3 separate regions of the Homo sapiens genome follow, and all the other regions are linked to region 3. Evidence: promoter capture Hi-C in 16 types of primary human blood cells and fetal thymus (Javierre and others, 2016). All regions are on one chromosome and are shown on one strand. Each heading gives the region's core, a stretch centred on a gene start or on the middle of the fragment in contact. The rest is flanking DNA. Distances are from core to core; before and after follow the strand shown.

The links. The method cuts DNA at HindIII sites, captures the fragments that hold promoters and counts their contacts. A CHiCAGO score of 5 or more calls a contact.
Region 1: a fragment that was not itself captured here is called in contact with the fragment with the promoter of RDH12 in region 3 in 1 of 17 cell types (naive B cells); the score reaches 5.0 in naive B cells.
Region 2: a contact is called between a fragment that was not itself captured here and the fragment with the promoter of RDH12 in region 3, in 15 of 17 cell types (naive B cells, total B cells, naive CD4 T cells and 12 more). The highest score is 10.9, in naive B cells.

Annotation. Positions count from the first base shown.
Region 1 is chr14:67,391,872-67,396,103 of GRCh38, reverse strand. It overlaps PLEK2 (pleckstrin 2), which reads left to right. Exons shown (of 9, transcript NM_016445.3): 3 at 521-702; 4 at 2,863-2,954; 5 at 3,255-3,442; 6 at 3,677-3,778. It also overlaps a transcript of GPHN not described here. Among named protein-coding and RNA genes, the nearest start is that of PLEK2, 18 kb to the left of the region's middle. The HindIII fragment of the contact is 1,862 bases long and covers 345-2,206 here.
Region 2 is chr14:67,433,779-67,437,696 of GRCh38, reverse strand. It overlaps a transcript of GPHN not described here. Among named protein-coding and RNA genes, the nearest start is that of MIR5694, 6.2 kb to the left of the region's middle. The HindIII fragment of the contact is 2,286 bases long and covers 1,353-3,638 here.
Region 3 is chr14:67,699,766-67,703,915 of GRCh38, reverse strand. RDH12 (retinol dehydrogenase 12) reads right to left here and starts at 2,030. Exons shown (of 9, transcript NM_152443.3): 1 at 1,981-2,030. It also overlaps a transcript of GPHN not described here. The HindIII fragment of the contact is 4,699 bases long and covers 1-4,150 here.

The sequences.
Region 1 (4,232 bases), core at 26-2,525, 310 kb after region 3:
AAACTATATCCTATGAGAAATGTGTGAAAGACTTGATGCTTAGACACAGGAAAGAGGACGGAAGGGAGCATGACTAACAGGCCATTTGAGGTAGGCATTAATATCCTGTCATTTCCTAATGTGCCCGGGAGTCCACAGCCAAGTGGCAGAGCTGGGGTTTGTGTTCAGATGGGACTGATTTTAAAGCCTGGGCATTTCCCTCTTCAGTGTAGGGGCTGTCATAGGAGGTGAGTCTTCATCTGTGTGGTTCTAGAAGAGAGAACAGAACTAGTGTGTCCAGGAGGCAGGCCCTACAGTAACTACCTTGTCCACAAGGGAAAGGCTGCAGTGTGAGGCCGCAAGCTTCCTGTCACTGGAGGTGTCCAAGTGAATCTTTAAAGACTACCTGCTATGTGGCCGAGGGCTCAGGGCATTTGGCAGTCACTGTCACCTAGATTCTCCCGGGGCCCCGTCATTTTTGCTGCCCGGCGTCCTCTTGCTCTGCCTGAGTGCTGGCCTGACTGGCTCTCTCTTCCCACAGCTCCTCATTAAGCTGAAGACTCAAACATCCACGGAGTACTTCCTGGAGGCCTGTTCTCGAGAGGAGCGGGATGCCTGGGCCTTTGAGATCACCGGGGCTATTCATGCAGGGCAGCCGGGGAAGGTCCAGCAGCTGCACAGCCTGAGAAACTCCTTCAAGCTGCCCCCGCACATCAGCCTGCAGTGAGTGCCCCACTTGCCGGGCTCTGTGGCAGCCTCTCCTGCCTGTGTTGGGTGGGCAGGGGACCCTGCCCCTTGGGGGGGCTCTGTGCTTGCTGCACAGTCTGGCTGGTGCCACCACGGTGCTTCAGGGCCTTCAGCTGTTCCTGTCCTGTGTATATTATTTTCTCTGCTTGGGAGTGGCCCTACCTACCTGCCCCATTCCTATGGGATCTCTCGTGGCTCTTGCCACCTCTGCACACCTCCATGACACAAGACCCCCATTCCATTTCAGCCAGGGTGCTCAGGGCTGTGTCACAGCTCCCCCAAAATCTCGTCTTAGTCTGTTTTCTGTTACTTATAACAGAATACCTGAAATTGGGTAACTCATAAGGAGGGATTTATTTCTTATCATTATAGAGGCTGGGAAGTCCAAGGTTGAGGGGCTGCATCTGGTGAGGGCCTTCTTGCTGGTGGGAGTTCTCTGCAGAGTCCTGAGGCAGTGCAGGGCATCACACAGTGAGGGGGCTGAGCATGCTAACATGCTTGCTCCGATCTCTCTTCCTCTTATAAAGCCACCAGTCCCATTCCCATGATAATTCATTAATTCATTTAACCCATTAATCCATTCACAAGGGCAGAGCCCCCATGACCCAATCACCTCTTAAAGGCATCACCTCTCAATATTGCCACATTGGGGATTTTCAACATGAGTTTTGGGATAAACATTCAAACCACAGTAAATCTCCACCAACCTCCCAGGCAAAAGAACTGTTAACACCCATCAAAGATGTATGAATCCATTCCTGGGCTCACAAAAACTCCCCACCAGGCACTGAAATCTTGACTGTACACCTCCTATGGGTCTAGGTGGGTGCAGGGAGGATCAGCTGCAGATAAAGGTGGGTAGGCAGGTGGGTTTAAAGATAGTTGGAAAAGTAGCTGAGGGGGTTTGGACTTAATGCAGGGGATCACAGAGAACCATGTGGGCTACTGTGCACTCTTGGGGCTTTTTTGTTTTTCTTTTTTGGGGACAGGGTCTCACTCAGTTGCCCGGGCTGGAGTGCAGTGGCTCGATCATGGCTCACTGCAGCCTTGACCTCCTGGGCTCAAGTGATCCTCCCACCTCAGTATCCCAAAGCACTGGGATGACAGGTATGAGCCACTGTGCCCAGCATACACTCTTGTTTGTAAGTTAAAAGTCACACCTCTTTGGTTTTACTACAAAAGCAGTGTGTGTCTGGCATAGAAATATAAGAACATTTAGATAAGGAGAAGAAAAGAAATGTCTGAAAATCCTGCCTCTCAAATTTGGAGGCATAACTGAACACCCTGTTCTGTGGTGAGGAGGTATAAACAAACCTACCTGCAAGGGGAGCTGAGAGGCAGGAGAAAGAGGCTGACAATTCCAGTTTCTCACAAAGAGGCATTTAATAGGGACTTACAAACAGAAGTGATGTCCCTGCTGGCCTAGAGACAGCGAATCACCACACTTGTCTTCCAGAAAATATCCTTTATATAGCAAGCTTTTTTGGGAAAATGTGCAGCTAGTGGTGCCTCAGACTTTCTTGTGAAACCTGTGACCACTGGGGAGGTTAGATAAACATCTTTATGAGGGGTGAGCCGTGCTATGGGAACACCGTGGTATGCAGGAGTCAAACATCCATCATCAGGCCAGGCACGGTGGCTCACACCTGTAATCCCAGTACTTTCGGAGGCTGAGGCAGGCGGATCACTTGAGGTCAGGAGTTCGAGACCAGCCTGGTCAACATGGTGAAACCCCATCTCTACTAAAACTACAAAAATTAGCCAGGTGTGGTGGCAAATGTCTGTAATCCCAGCTGCTCCGGAGGTTGAGGCAGGAGAATCACTTGAACCTGGGAGGCGGAGGTCACAGTTAGCCGAGATCTTGCCACTGCACTCCAGCCTGGGTGACGGAGCGAGACTCTGTCTCAAAAAACAAACAAAAAACAACAACAACAAAAATCAATCATCATGGCGGCTTCACTTCAAGATGGCATCACTCTTGCCATTCAAAAGGCTGCTTTCCTACACCCCTTTTCTTTGTGATGTGTGTCACACCATTTGCCACTTGCTTTATACCCTTAGCAGTGACTCAGGACCCTCCCTTATACCTGCCCGCGTGATGAGGGTTCCCTCTCCTTTGCCTTCCCTTCCATGTAGTCGCATTGTGGACAAGATGCACGATAGCAACACCGGAATCCGTTCAAGCCCCAACATGGAGCAGGGAAGCACCTATAAAAAGACCTTCCTCGGTGAGCCTGTCCCCCAGGGCCGGGCTGGGCAGTCAAGCTGGGACATGGTGATGCAGGGCTCAGCTGTGTGCTTGACCGCCCTGTATTGAGGTCAGAGCTGCCTGCTGGGCAACAGGCTAGCCTGAGATGGCCATGTGTGGGTGTGCAGCCACGGCTCTATGCAGCAGGTGTGGCCTTCAGTCTGCTCTTGCGTAGAGCCCTGAGGCTGCCCAGAGGGCCAAGGTCAGTGAGGTCATTGGCCACACACCCCAAGGACGCTGGTCCATCACCCATCGCCTGACTGGTGCTGCCCTTGGCCAGGCTCCTCCCTGGTGGACTGGCTCATCTCCAACAGCTTCACGGCCAGCCGTCTGGAGGCGGTGACCCTGGCCTCCATGCTCATGGAGGAGAACTTCCTCAGGCCTGTGGGTGTCCGAAGCATGGGAGCCATTCGCTCTGGGGATCTGGCCGAGCAGTTCCTGGATGACTCCACAGCCCTGTACACTTTTGTAAGTTGGGGAGTGGGTTCTTCTTGCCACCAGGGCAAAAGTTAAGGAAGACACAACAGAATGGGGGCCTGGGGGCCACAGTCATGGGAGGAGACCTTGGGCTTGGGGGACGACTTCATCCTGATGCAGAATGAGGTTCCTGTCCTGAGGAATTTCCTTTCCCCTCTGACAGCCGCCATAGCCTGGGCCTGGGTCTTTTCTGTAGCAGAGTCCTTGCTCCCTCCTTCCCCCTAGGCTGAGAGCTACAAAAAGAAGATAAGCCCCAAGGAAGAAATTAGCCTGAGCACTGTGGAGTTAAGTGGCACGGTGGTGAAACAAGGCTACCTGGCCAAGCAGGTATGGCTGCTATGAGCAGGGAAGAGAGATGGACAGTTCTCAAGCTTAGGGGAGGGAGCAGTGAGCCCAGAAGAAGGGAAGGGCTGAGGCTGCTGGAGGGCACCAATTACAGCAAAATCTACGAAAGCAAGAGCCCAGCACCAGCCTCCAGGAGCAAGTCAAAGAACAGGCATATGCCCACACTCACACACACATGTGTACCAGACACAAGGGCTGTTCGGGAAAAATGTACTACACACACACACAATTATCACAACATCAAAAAACAACTTCTACACAATTGCCCAGCTTCACATATTTGTCTTGGAAGCTTTTGCTGACTGGCTTGAGGTTTTGCATTTGCTGGCCTTCTGTTCCTTGGGGCGTCCTGGGGTCTCTGCCTTCCCTTGTGAGATTCTGCACGCCTCCTTGATACACTTTCTGAGCTAAAAACAATTTTCTCCACCATGTCGGT
Region 2 (3,918 bases), core at 1,246-3,745, 270 kb after region 3:
TCCCAAATACATCTCATTTCCTCCCACCTCTCTCTCCCCCCTCCTCCAGCAAGTCCCAGCCAGCATCCTCTTCCCCCTGGATGCTAGAGAGGCTCCTGTCTGCTCTCCTTCCTCCCACGGCTGCCCGCACAGCCTATTCTCAGACGTACAGCCGCCGTGAGGTTTGGACATTGAAATCAGACCGTGTCACTTGCTTAGAGCCCTCCAATCACTTCCCATTAGACTCAGACAAAAATGGAAATCTCCTAACTTGGTCTGCCTAATCTGGCCGCTGCCCACCCCTCCAACCAGGCTCAGCTCAGCCTTCCCTGACCATCTTATCTGAAGCAGAAGCCCACTTATTTCCCATCGCTGTACCTGTGTATTTCCTTCTGCGTACTCACTACAATTTCACATCATTTTGTGACTTTGCTCACTTGTTTATTTTTTGCCTCCCCACCATGGACTGCAAGTTCCACGAAGGCAGGATCATGTCTGTCTGTTCATGATTGTAGCTTCCCAGCACAGCATTTCACACATAGGTAGGCACTCAAGAAGTACTTTGGGATTAAAGATGAAAGAAAGGTCTATTATATAAGTCACAACAGGATGCCAGCCATCTGCCAGGTGCCTTTTTATTGTTGTTGTTTGTTTGTTTTTTTGAGACAGGGTCTGGCTGCATCACCTAGGCTGGAGTGCAGTGGTGCAATCATGGCTCGCTGCAGCCTTGGCCTCTGGGTTCAAGTGATTCTCCCACCTCAACCTCCCATGTAGCTGGGACTACAGGTGTGTGCCACCAAGCCTGGCTAATATTTTTAATTTTTTGTAGAGATGGGGTCTCACTCTGTTGCCTAGGCTGGTCTCAAATTCCTGGGCTCATGTGATCCTCCCATCTCAGCCTCCCAAAGTGCTGGGATGACAAGCGTGAGCCACAGCGCCTGGCCTGCCTGGTGTCTTCTCTGCCATTTCTCTCCTCTCCTCTCTCCCTCCAGAGGGCAGCTCACTGCACAGAGGTCTGGGAACCTGCTCTCTGGGCTGGATTCTGACCCTATGGGAGGAACTTGTGGAAGGACTGGGCGTGGCAGTGAGATTATCGGGTGCCAGATGGAGGCTGGGAGCAGACTAACAGTTCCCTAATGCCCACTCTGGTGTCCTGAAGAAACTCTCCCCTGCCTGGTCTCCATATGGAAAGGGGCTCCCTCGGCTGAACCATGCAAGGCTGCAGAAGACTGGGTACCACCTAGAGGGGGCAGCTGTGAGAGAGCCAGGAAGGGGTGAGAGCTGGTATTGCAGGGCCAGGGAACAGATGTGCTAGTTTGAAAGGAGGACTTTGTATTCTCCCTTACGGCTGCAGAAAGCAACGAATAAAAGCTTGATATGTTGCTGGGCTAGGCCTGGCTACCCCAATATCCCCCAGCTACTCCATGGTATAGAGTGAACTCTCCCCTCCCACACAGGCGCCTACTGGCCTGGCATCCTGGGCATTTGCCCAGGCTTCTTGGAGGAGGTTGGCCAACCTTGGCTGGACAGTAGTATCCTGTGACATTCACAGATACTGGCAAGAAGCCCCAAGACTCCAGGCAAGAATGGATCAGTAGTTTCCAGTAAAGAGGCTTCTGTGGGAAGTAGAGCTACGGTGGCATTTCTGTGCCTCGGGAATCAGCCCTAAGGGAAGTAAGCCCTCTGGGAGCCAGAGAAGCTCACAATTGCTTTAGCAACACATCCCATCAGACCTGCCTTGCCTCCCCATCCTCAAAAGCAAATACTTAACCATCCGCAGTCTCCAGTAGACTGCCTGCTAAGCTCTTTTTCCCCCTTATTTGATGCAAAAATGTGTGGTCAGTGAACTGTCCTAAGGACAGGACAACACCTCCACCCGCTGGCACCACCAATGGACGTGGCCAAGGACACAGCGGGGTGATGCTTATGGGATGGGAGGCCTTGGGCAGAGTTGAAGGCAGAAAGGTCCTGTTAGTCACCCAGGGACTGGGAGTGCAAGACAGAGAAAGGGAAGGAGTGACATCCAGAAAAGGATGACTTGAGGCAAGCGTTCTGGAGATTCTTTGTAGGTGCTCTGTTATTGCTTCCAGTGACCTCCCTGGGACTTTGATAAATAAAAGAAAACTTGTATGACCATAATGAGTTTTTAAACAAAGCACAGTGTTACAACACTCCAATGACTTTAGCCGCCATACCCTGTTGTGGCCACTGCCCTGTGGGCATCTCAGACAGGGGCTGTTGCTGCCTGCTATGGTTCGAATGTCCCCTCCAAAATTCATGTTGAAACTTAATCCCCAATGTGGCAGTATTGAGAGGAGGGGCTTTTAAAAGGTGATTGGATCATGAGAGCTCTGCCCTCATGAATGGGTTAATCCATTCATAGATTAATGGGTTAACGGACTAACCGGCTATCATGGGAGTGGAGCTGGTAGCTTTATAAGAAGAGGAAAAGGCTGGGCGTGATGGCTCAGGCTTGTAATCCCAGCATTTTGGGATGCTGAGGCAGGTGGATCACCTGAGGTCAGGAGTTTGAGACCAGCCTGGCCAACTTGGTGAAACCCCATCTCTACTAAAAATGCAAAAATTAGCCAGGCATGGTGGCGGGTGCCTATAATCCCAGCTACTTAGGAGGCTGAGGCAGAAGAATTGCTTGAACCCAGGAGGAGGAGGCTGCAGTGAGCCGAAATGGCACTATTGCACTCCAGCCTGGGTGACAGAGTGAGACTCCATCTCAAAAAAAAAAAAAAGAGAGAGAGAAGAGGAAGAGAGACCTGAGCTAGCACATTAGCATGCTCACCCCCTCAGCATGTGATGCCCTGCACCACCTCAGGACTCTGCAGAGAGTTCCCACCAGCAAGAAGGCCCTCACCAGATGCACCCCCTGGACCTTGGACTTCTCAACTCAATAACAGTACAAAATAAATCCCTTTTCTTTATAAATTACCCCGTTTCAGATATTCTGTTATAAGCAACAAAACACGGACCAAGACACTGCCTGTAGGGTTTGGTGTTCTCTCTGCTGTCATCATTATTCCTTCTTCCCACCTCTATGCATGAACAGGTCTGTTACCTGAAACATTCTTTAGTCCTCCAAATGTTCTCATGGTCTGTGGTTTGCTTAGAGTCTAGTGGCTCTCGAACTTTAGTGTGGTTTCATAAACTGACCTTCTTGATAAAATGAATACTCCCAGGCTCCCATCAGCGATTCTTCTCTGATATAGACAGTCCTTCAGCCCCATTTTAAGAAACACTGATTTAGAAATCACTGTGCAAGTGGTTAGTTTCTGTTTTTTCTATTTGAATAATACTGCAGCAAACACTTTGTAGAAATGACTTTGTTCTAACTGTTTTCTTTAGCTACTTCCTTAGAATTAGGATTATGGAATCAAAGGATAGGAACTGTTTTGTAGGTTTTGCCAAATTAGCATCCAGGGAATTTGAACAATCAAACATTGTTTTATCATTTATATTAATTTTTATAACATTATAAAATTCACTGAAATTGCAAATTCAAGATACATGGTGGGGCTGCCTATTTTTCTATGTGAAGTATTGTGTGTAAACTCTCTGCTCATTTCCTTTGAGTACTTATCAAAAAGGAGCAGGATACTGGCCTTTTATAGTTAGATCTGTTCTTTAGCTATTTTGGATAGAAAGCTTAATTTGCCACATATATTTCTCCCCCATCTGTGGCTTTCATTTTTGTGTTTGCTTTATTACATTCTGTGGCACAAAAGGCTTTTAAAAACACATTTAGATCCGTCCATCCTGTCTCTGATATCTAATTTCATCAATAGTCAAAATGTTTTCTTCTCATCACAGTGGAAACACATTTGCTTTCCCATTTTCTCTGGCTTTTTATGACCCACTTAGACGATATTTGTTAAACAGTGATTCTTTCTTGTAGCATTGTGTTGATGCTTATTCATCTTATATCAA
Region 3 (4,150 bases), core at 781-3,280:
ACTTGAGTCTAGGAGTTTGAGACCAGCCTGGGCAACATGGCAAAACCCCATCTCTACCCAAAAAATGCAAAAATTAGCCAGGCACGGTGGTATGCACCTGTAGTCCCAGCTATTAGGGAGGCTGAAGTTGGGGGATCACTTGAGACCAGGAGAGAGAGGTTGCAATGAGCTGTGATCATGCCACTGCACTCCAGCCTGGGCAACAGAGTGAAACTCTGTCTCGGAAAAATAAAAAAAGACATACTGGGTTTTCTGAGACTCCAGCTAGATACATATTATGGCCCATTGTTGTGCACATCTTAAAATAATAGACAGATTAGAACTCAAGTGGTCCACCCAGAACTACAGAGTTAACATGTAGGATCGTCTAAGTTCTCTGTCTACCTCTATATATTTTTTCTGCCTACTTTGAAACTACTGACTTTTCTACTTGTGTTGAGATAAAGCTCACTGTTTATAGTATTACTAACTTAAGAAGACTTAGAAATTTTGTTTTTCTTATACGATTCAGCCAGTTCAAGCTAAAATGTTAACATTAAAAACCTAACTCTAAACTCATTTGAAACTGAATAAAAGGATAAAAGATTTTTAAAATAAAACTGCCATCGAACTACCTTACCCAAAAATTTTGGCTCACAGCCTTCATTAGATTACCTATTGGGACAAATAAAATTTAGCCATGTGAACTAACAGGTCCCAATTTTTTCCAAAAATAATTTAGATCCAACTATCTTTTATAAACTGGTGAGTTTGTATTACTATCTCATGACTAAAATTCTAAAATGAAAACTATAAGGGCCAGATGAGGTGACTCATGCCAGCAGTCCCAGCACTTTGGGAGGCCAAGGTAGGAGGATCATTTGCGCCCAGGAGCTCAAGACCAGCCCTGGCAACATAGTGAGACTCTGACTCTACAAAAAAAAAACTTTTTTAAGTTAGCTGGGCATGGCGGCACGCACCTGTAGTCCCAGGTACTCAGGAGGCTGAGGTGGGAGAATCACTTGAGCCTGGGAGGTCCAGGCTGCAGTGAGCCATGGTCATACCACTGCTCTCTACCCTGGGCAACAGAGTGAGGCCCTGTTTCAAAAGACAAATCAAAAAATAAAGGTATAAGATCTCTATTTGTGCATATATATGTGTGTTTAGATGTGTTTACATATATACATGTAATATGTTATATGTTGTATCTACATGATACCCAATTGACTTATAGATAAATGAGCACTCATAAATTAGTAAGCCCAAAGGTTTTCCAAGTTCACATGACTTAAGTAATTCTTTAATAAATAAACTGGCTTTAAAATTATTAGTAAAATAAATATTAAAATGTCTTCAAAATTGTCAACATACATATTTGCCTAGATTTATGGTCAGATTTATACTTGTCTTATTAAATATTTTACAGGGTCAGGATTTGGCACAAAGGTAAAAAACTATGAACCCAGCCAAAACCAAAATAATCTTTGTGTGATTTTTTTTATAAGTAAGACTAATTTAATATTGTTGGTTTAAGAAATACAGCTAAACCTTCTGAGTTATCAACAAAATACCCATGTATTTAACTTTAAATTTCTTGCTTAGGTAAATATCTGACATTCACAGGCTATAAAAATGGTTAATAGAAAAAAACTTAAAAAACTGAGCACAGGCCAGGCATGGTGGCTCATGTGTGTAATCCTAGCACTTTGGGACCCTAAGGTGGGAGAATCACTTGAGCTCAGGAGTTTGAGACCAGCCTGGGCAACATAATGAGATCTCATCTCCATTTAAAAAATATATATATATTAAATTTTTAAAAAAGCTGGGCACAGTGGTTCATGACTGTTATCCTAATGCTTTAGGAGGCCAAGGCAGGTGGATCATTTGAGATCAGGAGTTCAAGACAAGCCTAAGCAACATAGTGAGACACTGTCTCTACAACACAGTGAGATACTGTCTCTACAAAAATTTTGAAAATTAGTCTGGCATGGTGGCACTTACCTGTAGTCCTGGCCACTCAGGAAGCTGAGAAGGGAGGATTGCTTGTGCCCAGGAGTTGAGGTTACGATGAGCTGATCATGCCACTGCATGATAATAATTTATTACATGGTAAATTATTTTCCTAAAGCAAAATGACAGGTTAATTATAAAAGAGAAAGGGTAGGGCAAAACAAAAGTTCAAACATGTCATAAATAGTCTACAGAAATCATAATAGGCCTGGCGTGGTGACTCATGCCTGTAATCCCAGCACTTTGGGAGGCTGAAGTGGGCGGATCACAAGGTCAGGAGTTCGAGACCAGCACAGCCAAAATGGTGAAACCTCATCTCTACTAAAAATACAAAAAGTAGCCAGGTATGGTGGCGCATGCCTGTAGTCCCAGCTACTCGGGAGGCTGAGGCGGGAGAATCACTTGAACCTGGAATGCGGAGTTTGCAGTGAGCCAAGATAGTGACACTGTACTCCAGCCTGGGCAACAGACTCCATCTCAAAAAAAAAAAAAAAAAAAAAAGAAATTATAATAAAGTTCTTTAAAATTTTTTTAAATGTATATGTGATTAAGTTGGCTATAATCAAAAAAAAGTTATAAGTGTTTCTAAAGATTGAGATTTTGGTCCTCTATGTTAAAATAACATTGTCTTAAAGTATAAATTTGCTCTTAGTGAATTACAAGAGCTTTTGATTTTAAATTCTACAATCTATTTCTTTTCTAAAACTTCTCAAATTTATATCTCAAAAAATTCTACTTGTGCTATACCTCGCTGCACATGATTCCCAAGTCATGAATCGTTGTTGTTCGTTCTTTATACCCTTAAAAAGATACATGTTTTTCTTGGTTGAAATGATAATCCTCTCCTTCAACCTTTTTGTCAACTTCTGTAATCTTTGACTTTTTTTTTTTTTTTTTTTTTTGAGATGAAATTTTGCTCTTGTCACCCAGGCTGGAGTGCAGTGGCAAGATCTCCGCTTACTGCAACCTCCGCCTCCCAGGTTCAAGTGATTCTCCTGCCTCAGCCTCCGAGTAGCTGGGATTAGAGGCATTCGCCGCCGTGCCCAGCTAATTTTTGTATTTTTAGTAGAGACAGAGTTTCATCATTCTAGCCAGCCTGGTCTTAAACTCCTGACCTCAGCTGATCCACCCGCCTCGGCCTCCCGAAGTGCTGGGATTGCAGGCATGAGTCACCATGCCCAGCCAACTTCTGTAATTTTTTTTTTTTTTTTTGAGATGGAGTCTTGCTGTGTCACCCAGGCTGGAGTGCAGTGCCGCGATCTAGGCTCACTGCAAGCTCCGCCTCCCAGGTTCACGCCATTCTCCTGCCTCAGCCTCCCGAGTAGCTGGGACTACAGGCGCCCGCCACCACGCCCGGCTAATTTTTTGTATTTTTAGTAGAGACGGGGTTTCATCGTGTTAGCCAGGATGGTCTCGATCTCCTGACCTCGTGATCTGCCCACCTCGGCCTCCCAAAGTGCTGGGATTACAGGCGTGAGCTACTGTGCCCGGCCTTCTGTAATCTTTTTCTCTGGTTCTAACTCTGGTGTGGCCTGATGCTAAAATGTTTATCTTAAAGCTCTGGAACAAAACCATTTTCCTCCAATATAACTTGATTCTGTAGTCTTGGCTTTTCTCGATATAGCTAAATTATTTCCTATAACCAGGGCACTTTTGATGCTGTTACTGAGACATATTTATTGTCCTGCTTAAGATACAAGTTTCCTTGTTTACTTTCCTCAAAAATATAGTGTACACTCATAACTCTGGACACACTCTTCCTGTATTTTAATTAAATCCAAGTATCCTTTTTTTTTTTCTCGCTCTGTCTCCAGGCTGCAGTACAGTGGCATCATCTCAGCTCACTGCAACCTCCGCCTCCCAGGTTCAAGCGATTCTCCTGCCTCCATCTCCCAAGGAGCTGGGACTACAGGTGCGCACCACCACGCCCAGCTGATTTTTGTATTTTTAGTAGAGACGGGGTTTCACCATGTTGGCCAGGATGGTCTCGATGTCTTGACCTCATGATCCGCCCACCTCGGCCTCCCAAAGTGCTGGAAGTACAGGCGTGAGCCACCGCGCCCAGCCTAAATCCAAGTATTCTTTTCATTGAGTTTGTCTTCCAGGTTATCTAAATAGAGTTCCAATAAAGAAAAACAATCATATTACAAAAGGTTTTTCT